Regions from separate parts of the Homo sapiens genome. Here all the other regions are linked to region 1. Evidence: promoter capture Hi-C in 16 types of primary human blood cells and fetal thymus (Javierre and others, 2016). All regions are on one chromosome and are shown on one strand. Each heading gives the region's core, a stretch centred on a gene start or on the middle of the fragment in contact. The rest is flanking DNA. Distances are from core to core; before and after follow the strand shown.

What was found. The method cuts DNA at HindIII sites, captures the fragments that hold promoters and counts their contacts. A CHiCAGO score of 5 or more calls a contact.
Region 2: a fragment that was not itself captured here is called in contact with the fragment with the promoter of CYREN in region 1 in 11 of 17 cell types (total CD8 T cells, naive CD8 T cells, megakaryocytes and 8 more); the score reaches 12.4 in total CD8 T cells.
Region 3: a fragment that was not itself captured here is called in contact with the fragment with the promoter of CYREN in region 1 in 10 of 17 cell types (naive CD8 T cells, naive CD4 T cells, M1 macrophages and 7 more); the score reaches 7.8 in naive CD8 T cells.

Annotation. Positions count from the first base shown.
Region 1 is chr7:135,169,255-135,172,397 of GRCh38, forward strand. CYREN (cell cycle regulator of NHEJ) reads right to left here and starts at 1,453. Exons shown (of 4, transcript NM_024033.4): 1 at 1,398-1,453. RefSeq lists a silencer at 984-1,593 and an enhancer at 1,974-2,193. The HindIII fragment of the contact is 3,007 bases long and covers 1-2,710 here.
Region 2 is chr7:134,961,141-134,964,128 of GRCh38, forward strand. The region is part of intron 13 of CALD1 (caldesmon 1); the gene reads left to right. Among named protein-coding and RNA genes, the nearest start is that of AGBL3, 24 kb to the right of the region's middle. The HindIII fragment of the contact is 8,794 bases long and covers 1-2,988 here.
Region 3 is chr7:134,942,766-134,946,056 of GRCh38, forward strand. The region is part of intron 7 of CALD1 (caldesmon 1); the gene reads left to right. Among named protein-coding and RNA genes, the nearest start is that of AGBL3, 42 kb to the right of the region's middle. The HindIII fragment of the contact is 2,404 bases long and covers 87-2,490 here.

The sequences.
Region 1 (3,143 bases), core at 203-2,702:
CCCCTACAGGCAGCCAAAGCCAACCAGAGATACCTCCTGCAGCCTCTGTGCTGACTGACTCAGCACAGGAGGAACGGAAGGAGGCGGAGGCCCCTAATGTTCCTTCTCATTACCACCCCAAATGCCACTGTCCTCTGGGTGCCCAGCCCATTCAATCCCTAAAATACCTCTTAATGGCCTCTCCCTCATCTGGCCAACTCGATTTCTCTACTCTTCTATGGTGGCTCAGTTAAATGAAACTGAGGGCATTTTATTTCACAATAAAGTCTCATTGGCCAACACGCCGCCCTTAAGCTAAAGATACTTCTGATTGGTCAAACTTGAAGCAGCAATAGGGGCCCGGAGGCATTAACTGTGCCAGTCTGTAGATTCTGAAGCCCACGCCAGCCTCTGATCTAGTTTGGCCTCTCTTTTCCCTATCCCAATTGTTCTGCCTCCACTCAGCAGTCCTGGAGCTCAGTCCTCACCCAGAGAGATGGAGTTGTGACTCAGAGGGCCTAGGTCTCTACCTTCCACTTAGGAATCAAGCCAGAAGCTCCTGAAGCGGAGGTTTGCCCAAAAAAAAGAGTAGTCAGCGATAGTCCTCTCTGAATCATAATTTGATAATGCATTGCTCATCCAGATGGCTGTTTACAATTTAAGAAAAAATATTACCAGGCCCTCCTCCTAACCTGCCCGGCCATGGGGCACACCTTTGCCAATGCACCTTCATTTCTGTCAAAACTCAGTGATATTAGTGACTCCTACCCCCTAAGGCGCCTCCCAAGCGCAATGCTGCAGTCTGTGCGGACAAATTTAGTTCACCCTGGGGTGCCTATTAAGTACATTTCGCAAACGAGGAACTGAGACTTAGTTAACTTGCAGAAGATCACAGAAAAGTTTGAAATCAGCTGGTTGGATTCGCAGCCAGGTCCTGCAGACTCCAGACCCCGCGCCTCCCCGCCCTACTTCTGGGCCCCAAGAGCAGGCCGCGGCAACTTCCAGAAGCCGGGTCTCTGGGGCACCGCGCTCGCGGACCGACCTCAGTCCCATCCCAGCCGCTCCCTGCCTGGGCAGAATGGGGGCCCCGCGGGAACGCGATGTGCTGCCAGTTCACAGCCCGCCCTCCCTCTGCGGGCCGGTACCCGCCGCTGGCGGCGCCGACCTGTGGGAGGCCCAGAGGGCGGGTGAGTGCGGAGCGGAAGGCGCGGGCGAAGCACCGCAGGGGCCTCGCTGACCCCGCCACACGCCGGGCAGGGCTGCAACGGCTCCTTCCGACTGGAGCGGCCGCGCGCTCCTCCGGCCGGCTACTGGCTTCCCTGCTCTCAGGTTCCCGTCTCCGGCTCTCGTGCCCCTTCTTAGCTTCCAGAGCGGAGCCGGGAGGCAAATTCCAAGCGGTTGTGGGACCCACGCCTCACCCGGAACTTTAAGCCCTGCCGTCTCGCCTGGCGCCCAAACTCTGCGGACCTCCACTGGCCGCCCGCCTCTTCCGGCCCCGCGCGCTCCGGGGTCCCGCGGGCTCCCGGCCTCGGGACACTTCCGGTCTTGGGGAACTCCCGGCCCCCTCGCAGTCCCGGCGCCCGGGACACTTCCGGCTCCCGGCAGCTGCCTCAGTCGGAGGTCCGCGGGCGCCCCATGCTGGCAGTGGTAATGCCGCCGGCTGGCATCCGGTTGGCTGCGCGCTGGGAACGCCAGCGAGGCAGCGCCACCGGCTTGAGGAGGGTGAAAGTTCAATTCTTGGCCCCTGAAGTTAGCGGAAGGGAACGGGCATGTTTTGGAAAGGCCCGCCGGGAATTCCCTCAGAAACCAGGCGAAGCTCCCTGCTGGGCCAGGCCCCCCTCGTGTGCTTGAGGAGGATGGGAGCCCGGCCTCGGTTTGTTATCCTAATTAAGTGGAAAATTAAGAAAATAATAGAATAGCGTAAGTACTAATAGTAAAATTATAGTAAGAGAAATAACAATAGCTAGAATGGAATGAATTGCTGTATTAACCAAGGCTAGAAAGAATTTCAGCCCTCCGAAAGTTAAAGCGAGGGAAGAGAGAGACCCTCTCATATTGTTTTATACTCAGTACCTGTTTTTTTTTTTTTTTTTAAAAAAAAAAGGAAGTGAAATCAAAGACAGGCAGCCCAGCGCCAGGCCCAAAACTGGACCTGGGCCTGCCTGGCCTAAACCTAGTAGTTAAAAATCAACTCATGACTTAGAAACCGATGTTATTCATAGATTCCAGACATTCTATAGAAGAACATTGTGAAACTCCCTGCCCTGTTCTGTTTCTCCCTGACCATCGGTGCATGCAGCCCCTGTCACGTACCCCTTGCTTGCTCAAATCAATCACGACCCTTTCATGTGAAATTTTAGTGTTGTGAGCTCTTAAAAGCGACAGAAATTGTGCACTCGGGGAGCTCGGATTTTAAGGCAGTAGCTTGCCAATGCTCCCAGCTGAATAAAGCCCTTTCTTCTACAGCTCCGTGTCTGAGAGGTTTTGTCTGTGGCTTGTCCTGCTACAGTCCTTGGTTCCCTGACCAGGAAGCGAGGTGACTGACAAGCCCTGTGGAGCGTCCCTGCAGAGGACTCCGGCCAGCCTGACTGACGCAATCCAAAGAGCGCTCCCGGGTAGGAAATGGCCCCGGTGGAATGCCTTGCCAGAGCAGCGCATAGCAGGCTCCCGAGAAGGATTAACACTGGCTGAACACCGGGAAGGAACTGGCACTTGAAGTCCAGACATCTGAAGCTTGTCAAGACTAGTTTTTGGAACTTGCCCCACTCCATGTGAGTGGAAGCATGGCCTGATCACCCACGGTGTGCCTGTATTGACATCTTTGTTCTGGTTTTGACTTGGCTTGACTTGGTAAGACTAGTCTTTGGAACTTGCCCCACTCCACGTGAGTGGAAGCGTGGCCTGATCACCCACGGTGTGCCTGTATTGGCACTTTTGTTCTGGTTTTGACTTGGCTTGACTTGGTAAGACTAGTCTTTGGAACTTGCCCCACTCCATCTGAGTGGAAACGTGGCCTGATCACCCACAGCATGCCTGCATGGGCACTCTTGTTCTGGTTTTGACTTGACTTGAATTGCTGGATACTTTGGTTTTGGTTTTGACTTGGCTTGAATTTTTTGGTACTCGGATTTTGAATTTCGTGATTTTGGTTTGGTATAAACGGT
Region 2 (2,988 bases), core at 32-2,531, 210 kb before region 1:
CACCTCCTGAGGAAAGTCATAAAACTGGAAACTAGAAAAACTGGTTATGAATGATGTTTTTGAGAATCTAAAATTTTCTTAATTTATTAAGTGCAGCTATCTTACTAAAAAGTACATTTCTTTTCACCTTTTTGTTGAATGTATACGACAATTGCTTGCATTTGTCATTATAATAAGAAAACGTATCAAGCTCCCCACTGTATATTGCTGAGCTTTCCCTGTTAAGTTTGCTTTTATAGCTTTGTTGGTGCCCAAGGGAGCTGAGAGTCCACTGTCATAATCCTACATTCTAGAGGAAGAAGAAAAAGTTTCCAATCCTAGGCCTCTGTGCATTTAATTGCATCCATTGGCTCCATGCCATTTAATTGCATTTGTTGGCTCCATATATAATCTCCAAAGTCATTAAATTTTGTCACTTTCCAATTTAAAAAGGAAGAAATGGAAATGTTCACAAATCCTTCTTGGGCACAACTCCTTGAACCGTTTAATTAATCTACACCCCGAGATTCTTTGCATAAAGGCTCACAGGAGGTATACACTAATGTCAACCCAATTTACAATTGGAAAATCTTTATACATTGAAAAAAGCAACTTTTCCTCCCCCTCTCAATAGGTACAAGAATGCGGGTTTATAAAAGGACACAGTTGAGGCAAGAGACCGGACCCAAAAGTTATGTGCTCTTTAGTGCCTCAAGTTTTCCAAGCATCTCTGGTAACATAAGGAGTAGAAATTATTTTCAAAAACAAAATAATCACTGGTTCCAGACCAGTGATTATTAACCCTTTTTGAATTATGAACCCCTTTAAAACCTAATGAAATTTAAGGACCCTCTCCCCCAAAATATACATATAAAAAAACAAGGCAGTCTATGGACCTACTGAGTAACTCTCAAGATAGTAAGTAAGGAGAGAAAGATCTATGTTTCCCTCTTTGATAAGTATGAAATATTTGGAGGAGATGCTAATTTTTGCACGTTTATGATATTTGCAATCTTTCATTTTTGTAGCAGATTATACTCAAAAATTTGATCCAGAACTTGGCCCCTATTCTTTTATCAGCACTTTAACTTGTAAACTGAAAAGTTTACCATCATCTGTATGACATCCTAATGAGGTTAAAAAGATAAAATGCAGTTATGATTATGATAGGTATAACTGTATCCAGGTTTCCACAGCAAAAACAAAACAAAACATACACCATGTTCTGGGGTTATTGACAGCCTCCTAAAAAAAAAAAAAAAAAAAAAAAGGCATTGCAGAGAAATTACAAAATCATTGCCTGCTTTACCTACTAATTAGTATGTGACTTGCTAGATCACCCCCTAGAGGGTGAAGAAAAGGAAAGAAGAACATGGCAGTTAGTATAGATTTTAGTGAGATCCTTCTTCCCATTAGATTTTGTAGACTAGTGTGGCTTCCTGAATGAGAACCAGATGGAAGAAAGTTCTATGAAATCAATGTTGTAAATACACCAGATTGCTACTGGGATGTCCCTTGCTATTTGTGGGTAGAATTTATAGGATTTCAGTGTAACTTTGTAACTGCAATTCAATTCTGAGTATGTCTGTTTGAGCTGGTTTGTCTATTCTTTGTGTCTAAACTAATGTTACACAGAAATTAAAAAGCTAATTTGTCTTTCTTTTTGTTTAAAAAAAAACAACCAACAATGTCTTTCTCAGCTGACCTTCTGTTCCTCACTCTTTGGTCTCTGGTTGATTGGAAACCTGCTTCTCCTGCCTTCATTTCTCCCTCTTCTTCCGGAGTGGGTCTTTCTCTAAAATGTAGTCTGGTCAGGTAATTCCATTTATATTTCCCCTTTGATTTAAAATGCCAACTTATAACTCAGATGTTCATATTTTCTTAAAAGGACTCTTTAAACTCTTTAAGTGATCTTGAAAGATTCATCGGCAGGATTTATGGGAAGTGCAATCCATTTTCTTAGGTAGAAGAACGTGCATGAGAAGGAAAAATATTTGTCTCATATGAATCAAATAAACAAAGCGATAATAGCTGCTTTCCAGAGCTTCCCTCAGCATGTTCCTAATTATAGTTTCCAAAATTTTAAAACAGTCTTCCAGACAGTTTGGCAGCTTCCACCTACGCTGGCAAATGTAGTGGAATTCTACAAAAATAATCTGATTTGTTGCTTAATGGCTCCAAGTTAAATAGGTGTAACTCTCTAATAGAATATCAGGAATTCATGCCACAGAGGAAATCCAGAAACTCAGTAAAGTTTAGGCAAATCTGAAATGCTTCACAGGTATCATTTAACTGTGCATTTTCAGTGTTACAATCTCAATACTATCTATCAGAAATATGTCCATTTAGATCAGTGTCCACGGGTAAATGCAATTGCTGTTAGCTTTGCCTTCCTCCTGAGAAAAGGGTTTGCCAAGATAAGCATTACTATTTCAGTAAAACACATTTATTTTCTACAAACTACCTTTTGCCAAGTACTAATATAAGCAAATGCTGGAAGAAAAGTAAATTGAAACAGAAATTTGGATCCTTATCCAAATGAAATTAATTAGGAGGTAGTAAATAAAGACTCTAAGCTGTATAACTGTTATCGATCATATTTTAGTGTTTCCATCCCAAGATTTCCACATGTTCTTACACATGTCATCAACTGTCAACTTCTCGCATGGGTTCAATTTGTGATGAATGTTTATATTTGCTAGGTTCTACTGATCCACTTCTGAATTACCCACTTGCCCCTCGGGAGACACATAATGATTTTAGGGTGAGGAAAATGCTGCTAGAAAAGGGACTTTGTGGCTGGGCGCGGTGGCTCACGCCTGTAATCCCAGCACTTTGAGAGGCTGAGGCGGGCAGATTATGAGGTCAGGAGATCGAGACCATCCTGGCTAACATGGTGAAACCCCATCTCTACTAAAAATACAAAAATTAGCTGAGCGTGGTGGCTTGTGCCTGTAATCTCAGCTACTTGGGAGGCTGAGGCAGGAGAATCGCTTGAACCCGGGAGTC
Region 3 (3,291 bases), core at 39-2,538, 230 kb before region 1:
TATAAGTTTTTTGTTAAGAGAAATAACGTTTAAGAAAATCTGTCAGTAGAAAAAAGTCTGTTTAACAATTAGCAAACTTGCCAACAAGCTTCAAAGCTCAAATTAATAATTAACATGCCTATTGTGTAGAAATCCAAAAAGCTGGGTAATTCGAAGAAAGGAATAGTCACAAGAGATGGTGACAAGTTAAGTGCTAAGAACACTTACGTGTGACTCTGGCCTTAATTTTTCTATTTTGGGCAGGAAAAAAAAATACAGGAACAAGCTGCTACCATATTATTTATTTTTGTTTAGCCACCAACGTATGTGAGTTTTAGTTTCAATTAGAAGTTCACGCTGATTGAAGTAGAGAAGTATAGTTTTGCTCCATATACATATAAAATGAGGAGAGAGGAAGAGAGTATCCGCCTAGCCTCTATTTAGGTAAGTTTAGTACCTACCAGCTTCACTGAAAACAAGCTGTGTTCTTAATGGTCAAAGGCCTGATACTCATCTTGACTTACACCTAAGGAAGCCAAGGACGGGGGTAGGGTGGTGGGGGTGGGGTGCGGGGAGAAAGAACTTTATGGAACGATTTCCACATTAAGTGGCACCCTAATGCTGAGGTCATGCACATAGGCAGAGGTGGTGTGAACAAAACTTTTGCTCCTGTTTTGAGCATAGCTGCTTATGTGTGATTTAATTACTGTTCCCTTTGATATCTGCATTTTCTTGTAACTCGTTTTCTCTAAAACATGACATAAAAATCTCAATTCAATGAGCAAGATATAGCGATGCAAATTATACCAAGGGTTTTATAGAAAGTGCAAAATGGTTTTTTGATTTTTTATTTTTGAAGGTAGAAATTAAAAGATTTTTTCCGATTATAGAAAAAAATACTCATTATAAAAACGCTCAGAAAATAGAAGAATAAAAATAAGCACCCACCACCCAAAGATAACTAGCAGTAACACTTTTTCCAGATATTTATCTATGTATATAATATTCAAGATAAATGCACACACGTGTGTATATTTATATGTAGTATATACGTGTGTGAGTATACTTATAATTTTACATTGATTCTTGCACTGTGCATAAGAATGTGTCATAGCTTGCTTTCTATGCCAATAAATATAAGCCTATAATTAATGATATTAGATTCTACTGGATGGATGTATTAGGACTTATTTAGCCAGTCCCTAATGACGGACATTTTGATTGTCCAAAATGAAGACTGAGTGACACCTAGTGGAATCCATAGATGTTTCTATAGGCATGTGTTTTGCCGGTCCAGTTCCTGTACAGTAATATGATGAACACAAAGAGAGAGCAAACTCATTTTTGGAAGGAAAGACCCTAAATTGACTGAGAGAGGAGTCACAGGCCTGTGAACCTAGAAGACCCTGAAAGAGCCTTTGACAGCAAGGTTTTGAGGGACCCTTTAACCTTGTTTGAGTTCAAAATAAAAGTTTACCTGTAACTGGCATGAGCCTAGACCAATAGTTCTAAATTTTTTAACCTAAGCCCTTAGTAAGAAATAAATTTTACATAATGACCCAGTACACACCTGTATATATTTTTATAACTGAAACAAGTGTGTCAAGAAATGGTACTTTGTTTTGCTCTATGCAGTGCACTCTGATATTTTCTGTTTTTTTTTTTTTTAAATGTTGATTACAATCTACTAAATTGATTTTCTGGTCTGCAGCTTGAAAATTATTGTTCTGGAGGACACAGGATATTCAGAACTACTTCAGTGTTTAAAAAGCATGATATATAATATACATATATATATTATAAAATCAATATTGCACAGTGTATTTCTTGAGCCCATTTCTTGTTTTATTCTTCCTCTTGTTTCACAGCTAGAAACACTGTACCATTCTTTACATGTAGTAAATGATGTTAGGGTGTGATAATTCCTTTGTTCCTTAGACAAAAGTGTCAGGAATAGGATATCTACGTTGACATCTAGTTAAGAATGACCTTACTACTTGCTAATAAGTATTTAAATGGCAAAGCTGTATCTCTGTCTCTTAAAGACTACTTATAACAAGGGCTTCAAGCCTAAATTAAGCCACTAAATTCTGCTTAGTGAAGTCCCAGGCAAATCCAACTTAGGTGAACTCTGTGTTAGTGAAAACTCTGCATTCTACTGAAGTTCTACTTTGAGTATCGACATGTTTTAAAATTATCAGTGTTCTAACTGTATCATACAGTAAATTTATTAAAGAAACTCAGGGGTCACAGTAGGTGCTAATGATATGTCTTCATCTTTTTATAGTTGTGTAAAATACTAAAAATACCAGTTCCAAAATAAAATTTTACCATAAGGACTCTTGGGATAGCATTCTGTCTGAAGTCTTAATATGTTCCCAATTCTGCAATGAAATCCCTGTGTATCCTCCTTAATCACAAAAGAAAATTCAACATAATTTCAATTTTAGTTCTTACTTACATAAAAACGTACCCATTTCTTCCTGTTTTATAAGCTGTTCTACCTGATGAAGCTTCTGCTTCATCTCAGGCACGGAAGGTAGCTAGACCTAGACTGTAGAAACTCTAGAGACAGAGGTAGGAAACGCTTCTCTCAGACTCTATCCTGAAGGTTTGAGGTAAGAGGTGGAGAGATGGAATAACATGTTCTATTTCAGTTTATTCATTGTTTCATAACAAAACGTATTTAATTTCAGGTATAATTATAGTTACAAGAAGAGTACAACTAATAGATAAGCATTAGAATCTGATCATGGCTCGACTGCTTTCTAGCTTCCAAAAGTTTGAGTATATTATTCTCTGTCTTACCTGTGGTTTCCTTGTTTGTAAGATGGGGATAATAAACCTAACCTGACATCTTCCCAGTTATTGTGACTGTTAAATGAAGTAGTGGATATGAAAAGGGTTTAGAGAGCATAAAGAATGACATGTAAGTAATAACCTTAACCACATCATACCAAGCTAATTTCATAATTTTAAGTCTGTATAAGGAGTATTCCAGTTGTATTGGGGTCAAAGAGCATAGAAAATTCACAAATTGAAGCCATAGGTTAATGCAGTCATTAAGGACTTTCCTGGAGCAGCTCTGTAAGAATAGACATAAATCACTGTGTTTAGCTCTTAATCAAGAGGCAATGGGTAATTTCGTCTGCCAGAGATCAGCTGCTAGAGTCAAGCTCAAGGCACAGTTGTGGACAGATGGATTTACTTCAATGCCTACCCTTAGTTACAGCCACTTTTTCCCATTCCCAGCGCCTGAACCTTTCTGTCTTCCCTCCTGATCCATTACTCCAGGCAGACCCAAGTTAACCA